2 separate regions of the Homo sapiens genome follow, and region 1 is linked to region 2. Evidence: promoter capture Hi-C in 16 types of primary human blood cells and fetal thymus (Javierre and others, 2016). All regions are on one chromosome and are shown on one strand. The core of a region is centred on a gene start or on the middle of the fragment in contact, and the rest is flanking DNA. Distances in the headings are between cores, read along the strand shown. Region 1 holds the start of LINC01352 (long intergenic non-protein coding RNA 1352). Region 2 overlaps LOC105372932 (a long non-coding RNA gene).

Region 1 (6,023 bases), core at 2,518-5,017, 570 kb after region 2:
CCAGGTGATCTGATTCCTAAACCAATGGATTTTCCATTACACTGAGAATTCACACATGAAGTGAAGTCCTTTAAGACTTTACTTTAAGACTTTCCTTTAAGTCCTTTAAGACTTTCACCTGTTACATAAGAGTATGTTATTCATCTTGATTTTTTTTTTTTAGATGGAGTTTTGCTCTCGTTGCCCAGGCTGGAATGTAAATAGTGTGATCTCGACATACTGCAACCTCTGCCTCCCAGGTTCAAGCGATTCTCCTGCCTCAGCCTCCCGAGTAGCTGGGATTACAGGCACCTGCCACCACGCCTGGCTAACTTTTTTGTATTTTTAGTAGAGATGGGGTTTCACCACATTGGCCAGGCTGGTCTAAACTCTTAACCTCAGGTGATACACCCACCTCAGCCTCCCAAAGTGCTGGGATTACAGGCATGAGCCACCACGCCCGGGCTTTGATTTTTTTTTTTTTTTTAATGAATTAATGGCCTTGGCTTTCAGAGGTAATGCTTTTATTCCTATTTATTTCTACAGTTTGCTCCTTTAAATTACTCCTTTCTTGGTGGTGGGGAAGTTACTGGGTAGAAATAAGATAGCCTAATTTGAAACAATTAGCCTTAGCTTTTATTTTTTGATGCAAGGGTTTATAAAGCCTAAGTTGAGGAAAAGCTAGAGATGGGGCACAGAGACCTGCCCTTGCTTTCCCAACCCTGAACGACACACAGTCAGTGGGTTGTTCACTCAGTTGTCAGCCTATGTGCTTTCCTAGAGCTGCTGTGATGTGTCAAGTTGTGTACAATGCTGGGCATATGAAACTAGAGTATATGATTTCATTCTTCAGGCAGCTGAGAAGACACAACCCAATGAATCAATTTCTTGCCAGCATGTTACATGCCATAATGGAAGTATACACAGGTGCTGTGGAAGCAAAAAAGAGACACCTAGCCCAGGAGACATTGATTATATCACACTCATTCTCATTTACACATGTGTTGGGTCTTAGTTATCTATTTTACCAGCATTCTACATAATACCAGCTCATGGTAGTTGACAAATAATTGTTAAATGAAAGAATGCATAGCTAAGCATTACTGATTTTGTAAATATAGTCTAGAATGGGAAAGGACCCAGTACTTTGCTTACACCCACAGGTAACCAACCAGCAACCACAGGCCTGAATCTGATGCACCGTCTTCTGCTCGTGCCATGGTTTTTGTTTTTGTTTTTTCTTAATTGAGTCATCTTTACTTAAAAATGCTAATTTCCAGCTTCACTTGTAAGATCAGAATATCTGAAAACACTTTACACTTATTCCAAAATGACTCCAACTGGTTGGAGCTAAGTAGAACTTAGAGCCTATGATGATTAATTTTATGTGTTGATTTGACTGGGCTAAGGGGTGCCCAGATAGCTGGGAAAACAATATCTCTGGGTGTGCCTGTGAGGGCGTTTCTGGAACAGGTGTTAATCAGTAGACTGAGTAAAGAAGATCCACCCTCACCAATGTGAATAGGCATCATCCAGCCCATTGAGGGCTCAAATAAAACAAAAGGCAGAGGAAGGGTGAATTCTGTCTTCCGGAGCTGGGACATCTTCCCTTAGATATCAGAGCTCCTGGTTCTCAAGCCTTTGGACTTTGGGACTTACACCATCAGTTCTCCTTGATCTTATGCCTTTGGATTCAGACTTAATTACGTCACTGGCTTTGCTGTTTCTCCAGCTTGCAGACAGGAGGTGGTGGGTCTTCTAGGACTCCACAATTGCATGAGCCAACTCCCATAATAAATCTCTTTACATATCTATCCAATGGGTTCCATTTCTCTGGAGAATGCTGACTAACACAGATCCCCTTCGATCAAGCACGAGCCCTGAGTTGGCCATGGTCCTACCTGTCATAATGAGAGAACTCTTCTCATTTGTGTTATGGGTCCTGGAGGCATTTGATTATTGGTCTGGTCATTCACAGGAAACCCATGTAGAAACAGCAAGCATACCTAGGAAAACTAGGAGAGAATTCCCAGAGTTCTAAGGGCTTATAGAAGTGCAGTGTCAATGAATGCAGGATTGAACCAAGCTGGAGAGAGGGAGGCTGGCCTGCAGAAGAAGATATCCTTTACTGGTACCTGAATTGGCTCCTGCCAAGTTTATCTCTGCTGATGAGGAAGCTTTGCCTCTAGTTTCTCTCCTGAGAAGGGAGAGTTTCAATCAACCTTGGCTTTTCATAAAGGACTTGGGGCTGCTGGCTGAATAGCCTGTGTGTTGGGGTTCACCCATGGGGATTTTCAAGGAGGCCTGAATCTTCTGATCCATCCAATCTCTCATTTTACACTTGAAGAAACTGAGGCTGAGAAAGGGGAAGTGACTTGGCCAAGGCCACACAGCAAGGTCAAGATCCAAGACTAAAACCAATTGCTTCTCTGTTTTGCTTATTACTACAGCACAGAAATAAAGAAATAGAGAATGGGAGAGGAGAGGTAGGTGTGGGGAGGCGATATGAAAACATGGAACAAGTGCTCTGCTTTTAGAATAACTAGAACTTTGAGCCCAGAAGATTTCTTTTCTTTTAATAAATAAATGTTTTATAATCTTACTTCTGTGGCTGGTGGGAAAAAAAGTCCTTCAAGTCCCCAAGGAATGTTAGGAAAACCTCCATTAAATTCTAGTCTTCAAATCTGAGTCATAATAACTATAATAAACTCTGGGAGTGTTTCCTTAGAGTTTCTCTTTTAGGGTGGAGAGGAGGCAGCAAAAAGAATAGGCAAGTTTTCACAAGAAAAACTTGTAAATAGGCAAGTATAACAAGAAAATGTATAAACCGGGATGGCTTCATAATTAGGCATAGCCTAATTGTGCTTATGTGTCTAGTCAAGAAACTCTATCTAGAGTTCCAGGGGAAGAAGGTGTTGGGGATGAGGGAGTAGGATTGGTTTGAGGGTAGTAGACTATATAAGGCATCATGCTCCTTCCCATGGAGGGGATGTATGATGGTTAATATTAGGTGTCAACTTGATTAGATTGAAGGATGCAAACTATTGTTCCTGGATGTGTCTGTGAGGGTGTTGCCAAAGATATTAACTTTTGAGTCAGTGGACTGGGAGAGGCAGACCCACCCTCAATCTGGGCGGGCACCATCTAATCAGCTGCCAGCACAGCCAGAATAAAAGCACACAGAGGAACATGGAAGGAGTAGACTTGCTGAGTCTTCCAGCCTTCATCATTCTCTCGTGCTGGATACTTCCTGCCCTCGAACAACAGACTCCAAGTTCTTCAGCTTTTGGACTCTTGGATTTACACCAGCAGTTTGCCGGGGGCTCTGGGGCCTTCAGAAGGCTGCACTGTCAGCTTCCCTACTTTTGAGGTTTGGGGACTCGGACTGGCTTCCCTGCTCTTCGGCTTGCAGACAGCCTATTGTGGGACTTCACCTTGTGCTCATGCAAGTCAATACTACTTAATAAGCTCCCCCTCATTTATACATCTATCCTGTTAGTTCTGTCCCTCTAGAGAAACCTGACTAATATAGCATGTGTATGTGCTTTTCCCTTTGCTTGGAATGCTTGTCCCCACTCTGACCCTAAGCACCACCACAACCTTCCTTCCTGGAGCTCAGGCTGTTATCCTCCAGGGCTCTGCTGATTCCCTGGGCACCCCGCACTCTGCTTCACAGCACTCATCACATTTGTCACTTGTGTAATTTGTTGCTTATCCCAGGCTTCCGTATTACATGATAAGCTCCATTAATGACAGTGTTGTCTGCCTTGGTTTTGTTCATGATGAGCACAGTGCCTGGCCCACAGTACCAGCTCACTAAGTATTTAGCAAAGGGCTTTATGAGGTCATCCCTGGCTCCAGCACCTCACAATCTTTATGGTGACTGTTCAGAGGGCAGCTAAGCAGAAAAGAAGTTTTCAACAAGGCTGTTTCTGGCCTGTTTTCCCTCTCAGTACTACATGGCAAGTCACGTCTCCAAACTGAGGAGTGTGCCTGAAGAGTCAGGTCTGGCAGAGAAAGGATTTCTTGCCCTAGGTTTAAACAAGCAATGTCAACATAACTTCCAAAGGCATCGGCTGCTTGGAAGAAGTGAATCCCTTGGGTCATTCCCTTGATTATTGTGAACCCGTGGCTGAGCAGGACAGAAATGTCACACAGGTGGACTGAGAACAAAATGATTTCAGATATGGGAGCCCCAAAGTGGCATCCCAAGGACAAGTGCTCAGAATTGCATGACTTGGTTTTCTGTTGAGCTATTCTGTCTTGGATAATTACAGCATGAGCTCTTGGCCAGTGGTGGGAATTAATTGGTTTTAATTCTCCCGCAAAGATTCTCTTAAGTAAAAGTAAAACATTTGCAAACTGGAGTTCTTTGAGTTATTGGTAACAACTTACTTTGCACCTCATAGCACACTGGTTAATAGCCTCCGCCAAATAACTAATATTTAGGCACTTTGCTAATGTATGCAAAGTGCTTTTAAGTATTATGCTATTAAATCTTCACAACATCACAGGTAGGTATTAGCACCATCTTACCTATTTTATGGATATCCAAACAGAGGTCTTCAAAAGTTAGAAAATCTGCACAGTCACAGAGCCAGTGGAGCCACAGCTGAGGCATGGACAGGCTGCTCTCCTACCACCTGCCAGGCCGCTCTTGCCCAGCTCATGAGGTCCAAAGTTTTCTCAACAAACTGCTTGGTGTCGATGTTGTAACCTGGAGCATTGCCCTGCAGCAGAAAGGCAGGCCTGGACATTCGCATGTCAGCATGGGGCGAAGCTGATAATTTCCAGTTGGGATCCAAGAAAAAGAAAAGCTCTCCACATGCCAACAACATTGTTATGAAGCTCTCTTGACCCAGCTACCCAACAGTGATCTCAAACATTTGGTCTCTCCAGTGTGTGTATGGGGGTGGGGGGCAGCTGGGCGTGTAGCCTTGTACACTTTGCACTTGGAGAGGTAGGGACAGGGGTCTAAATTAAGGGAAACCCTGCCCAGGGGCTGGCTTTGGGAAGCATGCCCAGCAGCCATGTGGAAGTTCACTGCATTACGGTGAATTACACCAGGTGGGGTGAGTACAGGACAAGGAAGTAGAAGTCAGAGCCTGCTTTTCAAAATCACCCTGCAGGCTGTTGTCCCCAGAAGAAGAGATCAACCTCAGGGGAGACCAGAGTCCTAAACACAAAACAAAAGAGTAATAAGGGAGGAAGCAAATGAAGTTGCTTATCTCATTTATTTATTTTTCTCTCCCATTTCCGCCTATGCTCCTCCAACTGAACCCCCCCTAGTCTCTGGTTTCCTGGCCACTATCTGGCCAATAACCTCCACATTAGCATCCCCAGCCCCTCTGTGCCCCCTGTAATCTCTTCTCCAGGCTTTGCTGAGGACTGTATTTACTGCCACACAGGATTTCCGTAGGTGATAACAGCAGGGCCTGGTTGGCTTGACCCTCTGTTCAGAGCCAACCCTTGGCTTCTTATGGTGTCCTCTTACAGCAAGGGAAGAATCTTAGTTTCTCCCAAGAATGTGACTCTCTTTAAGTGTCTTACCTACACTCAACAACTAAGCAAGCCTCTTGATGAGCAGCCCTTCACTCTCACATCCTCAACACTGTGGACTGAGAATTTACATTTTTTTAAAAAGGCAGGGCACAGTGGCTCATGCCTGTAATCCCAGCACTTTGGGAGGCTGAGATGGGAGAATCGTTTGAGGCCACAAGTTTGAGACCAGCCTGGCCAACACAGGGAGACTCCATCTCTACAAAAAAATTTTTAAAAATTAGCCAGGCATGTGCTACTTGGGAGGCTGAGGCGGGAGGATTGCTTGAGCCCAGGAGATCGAGGCTACAGTGAGCTGTGATCACACCACTGCACTGCAGCAGCGTGGGTGACAGAGCAGGACCCTGTCTCTAAAAAAAAGTAAAAGATAAATGTAAAATCAGGTCTGTTCTGCTCTGTATGTGTATGGGTGCCCCACATGGAGAGCCAAGAGACATAAGAGGTGCTGAGGGGAATTTTCCAAGGCGGGTCACCCACTTACAAAT
Region 2 (5,899 bases), core at 2,946-5,445:
CAAACAGCCTGTCTTCAACCTCACTAATTCTTCCTTCTACTTGATTGATTCTGCTAAAGGACTGTGATTCATCCTTCAGTATGCCAACTGCATTTTTCAGTTCCAAAATTTCTGCTTGGTTCTTAATTATTTCAATCTCCTTGTTAAATTTACCTGATATAATTCTGAACTCCTTCTCTGTGTTATCTTGAATTACTTTGAGTTTCCTCGAAGTAGCTATTTTGAATTCTCTGTCTGAAAGGTCATGTATCTCTGTGTCTCCAGGATTGGTCCCTGGTGCCTTATTTAGTTCATTTGGTGAGATCATGTTTTCAGTTGGATGATGTTGATGCTTGTGGAAGTTTGTCAGTGTCTGGGCATTGAGGAATTAGGTATTTATTATAGTCTTCACTGTCTGGGTTTATTTGTAGTCATCCTTCTTGGGAAGGCTTTCCAGATATTTGAAAGGGCTTGAATATTGTGATCTAAGCTGTATCTGCTTTAGGAGGCACCCCAAACTTAGTAACACTATGGTTCTCACAGACTCATAGACGTACTGTCTTGATGGTCTTGGACCGGATCTGGAAGAATTCTCTGGATTGCCAGGCAGATTCCTCTTCCCTTACTTTCTCTCAAACATACAGAATCTATCTGTCTCTGTTCTGAGCCACCTAAAGCTGCAAGTAGAATAACACAAGCATCCCTGTGGCCCCCACCACTATGACTGCACCAGGTCAGACCTGAAGCCAGCACAGCATTAGGTCTCAGCCAAGGTCTGCTGTAACCACTTCCTGCCTGCTGTTCACTCAAGGCCCTGGGGCTCTACAATTCACTCAAGGCCCTGGGGCTCTACAATTGGCAGGTGTCAAAGTCAGCCAGGCCTGTGTCCTTCCCTTCAGGGCAGCAAGGTCCCCCCACTCGCCTCCGAGTGGGTCCAGAAGTACTGTCTGGGCGTCAGAAACTAGAGTCAAAAACCTTAGAAGTTTACCTGGTGTTTTATTTTATTGCAACTGAGCTGGCACCAAACCACAAGACACAGTCCTTCCCACTCTTCCCTTCCCTTCAAAGGCAGAAGAGCCTCACCCCACAGCCACTGCCAGCCCAGGCCACGAGGAGTTCTGCCAGACTACTGTTGATGTTCCCTTAAGACCCAAGGTTTCTTAAATCAGCTTGTCATGAATGCTACCTGGCCTGTGACTCACCCTTCAGGTCAGTGGACTTCCCTCTGGCCCAGGGCAGGACCAGAAATGCCATCTAAGAGTTAAGTCCTGGAATCAGGGACTCCAAGAGCCCATTTGGTGCTCTACTGCTCTGTGGCTATGCTGGTACCTAAGGTGCAAGACAAAGTCCCCTTTACTTTCCCGCCTGCTTTTCTCAAGCCAAAGGAATTTTTCCCCATAGCCACCACAGCTTGGAATGTGCTGAGTCTCACCTAAAGCCAGCAAGTCTCAGAGGCTCACTCAAGGCTCTCGACGTAGTACCTGAGTATCACTTCTTCTTATTCAGGGCCCAAGGGCTCTTCAGTCAGCAGATGATAAATGCTGCCAGGACTGGGTCTTTTCCTTCAAGGCAGCGGGTTTCCTTCTGGCCCAGGGTGTCTCTAGAAATGTCACCTGGGATCTAGGGCCTGGAAAAGAAGCCTCACAACTCTGACCAGTGCTCTATGCTACTGTGGCTGAATTGGTATTCTAGATGCAAAACAAAGTCCTCCCCACTCTTCCCTCTCCTCTCCTCAAGCAGAAGGAGTGGGTCTTTTTTGGAGCCTCCAGCTGTGCCACCTGGGGTTATGGGATGGATGATACCAGCACTCCCTTGGCTGCCCCAGCTGGCCTCTCAGTATGTTGTGTGCCCCCACTCCAGTCCACTGTCTGTAGGCCTGGTTCAGCACTATGAGTCATCTAAGATTGGTGGCCCTTGTGGCCTAGACTGCCTTTCAAGTTTACTTGAAGACACAGAGTGCTGTAGCCCTTGATGGTGAGGTTTGAAGGTACTCAAGTTTGAACTGCTGGGATCAGTGATTCCCTTCATCCTAGGGCTCCTTTAAATGCTCCCTTCGTGGGTGGGCATCCGCTGAGTTTGGTGAATTTGATCAGCTGTTTTTCTTTCTCCTCTAACAGGACAGTATGAGTTTAGTGCCTCACAACTGCTGTGTTCTCCCTCTCCCAGCACCTAGAGAAGCTCTCTGCATCACACCTCTGCTGCCAGGGTGGGGTAGGGGTGGCATCAGCCATTCAGGAGTGTATTTTCTATTTATTCAGCACCTCTTTCAGTGATACGAAGTCATAACCAGGTACTGTGAGTGTTCACCTGATTTTTGGTTTGTATGAAGGTGTTTTTTTCTGTGTAGATAGTTGTTAACTTGGTGTCTTTGGTGGGGATGTGGGGAGGGAAAGCAATCAGTGGAGCTTTGTATTCTACCATCTTACTCCACCTCTCCTATGTATGTTTTCTTTTGTTGCCCATGCTTTTGGTATGAGTGTGGTAAGATATGGTGGTTTTATGGGGAAGAGATGGACAAGGAGGAAGGGATATAGCATGTCAAAACACCAGGCAAATTCAAATTTTACAGTAGTCATTTTCATTTCAATATGTGCCTTAGTTTCTCTCATGGGTCATAGGGAACTGTCCATTGGTTGCCTCCCTACACAGGGGAGATCTTCTGCCTCCCGGGGCCTCTTCAGAGCTCTCTCTCTTCCCTTTCTCTCTGTCTCTCTCTGTCTCTCTGTCTCTCTGTCCCTCTCTCTCTCATTACATTCCAAAACACTTCCTTTCCTAGGCAGACAAGTTTAGCCATTTTTCTTGGAAGCCTTGACTATTGCCCACAGAGCATTCAATCCCCAGGGGCTCAGAAACTTATATTTACAAATGAAGAGAATTCCCTCCCTAAGAGAAATTGTGACGACTATTAAGATAATAAGTTTCCACATCCTTAAAGAGGACAAAATTGGGGCAAGGGAGAAGGCCAGAGAAAGACATCTTTGTTTTGGATATTGCAGCAGGATAGTAACATGCTGGAGGTCCGCAATGGCACAAAGATCACAGGAGAAGCATCCATGCCAGATTTGGAGGGTATTCTAGTCATCTGCATGGAAAAATATCTCTCCACACTTGCCACCAGAAAACAACAGCCATTTATTTGCTTACAATTCAGACAGAGCACAGTGGGGATAGCTCATCTCTACTCCGCAATTTCCAGGCATGAGCTAGGATGGCTGACCAGTAACAGCTGGCTGGGACAATTTAACAGAAGCCATATGGGTAAGTTCTCATTATTCTCTGACTTCTTTGGTTCTCCTCCATGTGGTGCTTCCTTCAGCTAGCTTGTGCTTCCTCACAATATGGTGATTCCAAGGGAGCGGAACTTATATGTCAGCTGATTTTTCAGAGATATAACATGTAACCTGCTAGTCTTCTTTAGGTTTGAGCTCAGGATTCTTAAAACATAATTCTTGTTTCATAGAAAACCACAAGAGGGGAGCAAATAGATTCTACCACTTGAGGGAGCGGGGGTTCTTCATAAAATGGAAGTAACATGGAAAAAGGCTTCAGGTAGACACTTCTGATTATAAAGGAGGAATGTCCCAGAATGGGAATCAGGAAGAAGCTTTCTTTCCAAGTTGCATCCAGTCTTCCACACTTAAATTCTTAAACTTTCATTCCTCAGTAGATACAAGACACATTCAATTCTCTTTTTGAGTCCTGAACCACCAGCAAACATCACCTTACCTGAAAGCATTGTGGCAATTGTTCTTATTCTCTCCAGTATCGTGTTGTCTCTGGTGCTGGGGACATCAGGCATTCCACTGTGGGTTCTGAAAATCTGGGGTGAGCTTTATTCATTTTGGCCTCAGCTCAGATTTTTTGGAAAAGTGTTCCTCAAGATCATGGACAGAACCAAGGGTTCCACTGTGGAAAACCTACACTGGGGATTTTCATTGTTCTCTTTAAATGTCTAAGCTGTTTCTTCAGATCTGTGACAGCTGCCAGCCAGGATGAGGGATGGAGCTCATGAGGTGGGATGTTTTTCCCTGTTTCATTGTGCTTTATTGTACATAACAAAGGATCTAGCCAGCTGCTGTGTGGAAGAGAGTAAGATGCTCAGAAAGCCCTCTTTCTTGGTCTGTTATGCGATTCTGAGAAAGGAAGCTCAGGCAAGATCAATACATCCTCCGTGTGGACGTCAAATGGCTTGTGACATTGGTTCTTCAGGGCTGTTTTTTTAAGGATATTCCAGTCTTATGAGTTTGACATGAATTTGGCTTGATGCCCTGACAGAATGCAATGTAGGCATAATTTGATCTTCCTGTAATTGTCTATTTAACTTGGCAATCCAGACTAATTTTTTCCTGTGAAGTGAGCCCAAGACGTCACTAGGACAGTGGTTGGGTTAATTAATGAGGCATAATAATGTGCATAATAAAAGTTTATGATGCGGGTTCTCTTCCCACTATTTTCCTCTCCTTCACATAGAGAATTTCTGGTCCCACTGGAATCTGTGAGTCACGGTTTGTTAAAGGAGTTTTTTCTTGTAAACAACAGTAAGGAGAAAATAATAACTTGAGAACCATCTGTTTGATTGAGTCCTTGACTTTTTTTTTTGTTACCATTTCCCCCCATTGCATGTTAAAGGAAGTAAATAGGAAAAAAAAATTCTAATTATATTACTGTTTACTGATTATTGGATAACTTTTGTTGTATTTATTTTAAATACCATTCTGATCCACACCCAAAGCCTTAATCATCTTTCTGCTTACTGCTCCTTCCTACTCTCTCTTCTTTTTCTTTTTAATATGGAACTAATTACTTTAAACACTATTCTCAAGCTTGTTCAAATCCTTACCGCTCAGTGGCACCAGGGATAGATGTGGGGATAATAGCTTTCTTTGGTATCAACAGTGACTTGGGGAAAAGAAGTGTTCTTACAAGCGCCAATGGCAACATCAGAGGACACAAGGCATAAAAGATGGCTTTAAGTCTTAGCAGTTTCACCTGGTATGGCTGAGTTTGCAGAAATCATTAAACATTCTTTTCTTATCTGAAACCGTAGATTCAACAACTTCAATTCTATAAGTAGTTAAGCACGAATAATGTATGCAGCAAGGACTGAGCTAGACCTGGACTTGATAATATGCATATTAACTTTGCCTATCATAAGGAATCAAGTGATAAGATCCAGTGAGAGAAAGTAGATGAAAGTTCTCTGTAGACTACAAAGCACTGCCTAAGTCTGAGATATTATTGACACTTTTATCACAGTAAAGCATCTGATAGTTGAATTCACCCACTTACGATTTCAGGGCCAGTTGGTTACCTTATCATCTGGAGTTCAGCAAGGAAATAATAGTGTACCAAGCAAAGCTTGATGTTTGCATTTCTATGCCTAATCCTTTCCCTGAGTGGAGAAATGGTGCCTCTATGTTAGGATCCCCCACGGATGCCATTTTGCTGCTGTCAATGAGCACATGATCTACTTCAGTTGAAAATTCCTTGACTTCACCACTCCAAAATTTTTCTAAAAACTAGTGCCATTCTTGAGCAAAGTCAAATTTTGTTGAAAACAACTTTTGTTAAAAAGAAAGCATAGGCCAGGTGCAGTGGCTCATGCCTGTAATCCCAACATTTTGGAAGGCCGAGGCGGATGGATCACGAGGTCAGGAGATTGAGACCATCCTGGCTAACACAGTGAAACTCCTTCTCTACTAAAAATACAAAAAATTAGCTGGGTGTGGTGGCACGTGCCTGTAGTCCCAGCTACTCAAGAGGCTGAGGCAGGAGAATCTCTTGAACCCAGGAGGTGGAGGTTGCAGTGAGACGAGATTGCACAACTCCACTCCAGCCTGGGCAATGGAGTGAGACTTCATTTCACAAAAAAAAAAAAAACAAAACCCTAAACACTGTGATCAACCTGGCACACTGTCAC

The links. The method cuts DNA at HindIII sites, captures the fragments that hold promoters and counts their contacts. A CHiCAGO score of 5 or more calls a contact.
Region 1: a contact is called between the fragment with the promoter of LINC01352 here and a fragment that was not itself captured in region 2, in 6 of 17 cell types (neutrophils, M0 macrophages, monocytes and 3 more). The highest score is 10.6, in neutrophils.

Annotation. Positions count from the first base shown.
Region 1 is chr1:220,826,999-220,833,021 of GRCh38, reverse strand. It overlaps LINC01352 (long intergenic non-protein coding RNA 1352), which reads right to left and starts at 3,767. Exons shown (of 4, transcript NR_110797.1): 1 at 3,580-3,767; 2 at 2,115-2,329; 3 at 1,639-1,880; 4 at 593-909. HLX-AS1 (HLX antisense RNA 1) reads left to right here. Exons shown (of 3, transcript NR_046901.1): 2 at 1-4; 3 at 164-259. The HindIII fragment of the contact is 6,544 bases long and covers 2,159-6,023 here.
Region 2 is chr1:221,392,680-221,398,578 of GRCh38, reverse strand. The region is part of intron 3 of LOC105372932 (a long non-coding RNA gene); the gene reads right to left. Among named protein-coding and RNA genes, the nearest start is that of LINC02817, 59 kb to the right of the region's middle. The HindIII fragment of the contact is 1,219 bases long and covers 3,586-4,804 here.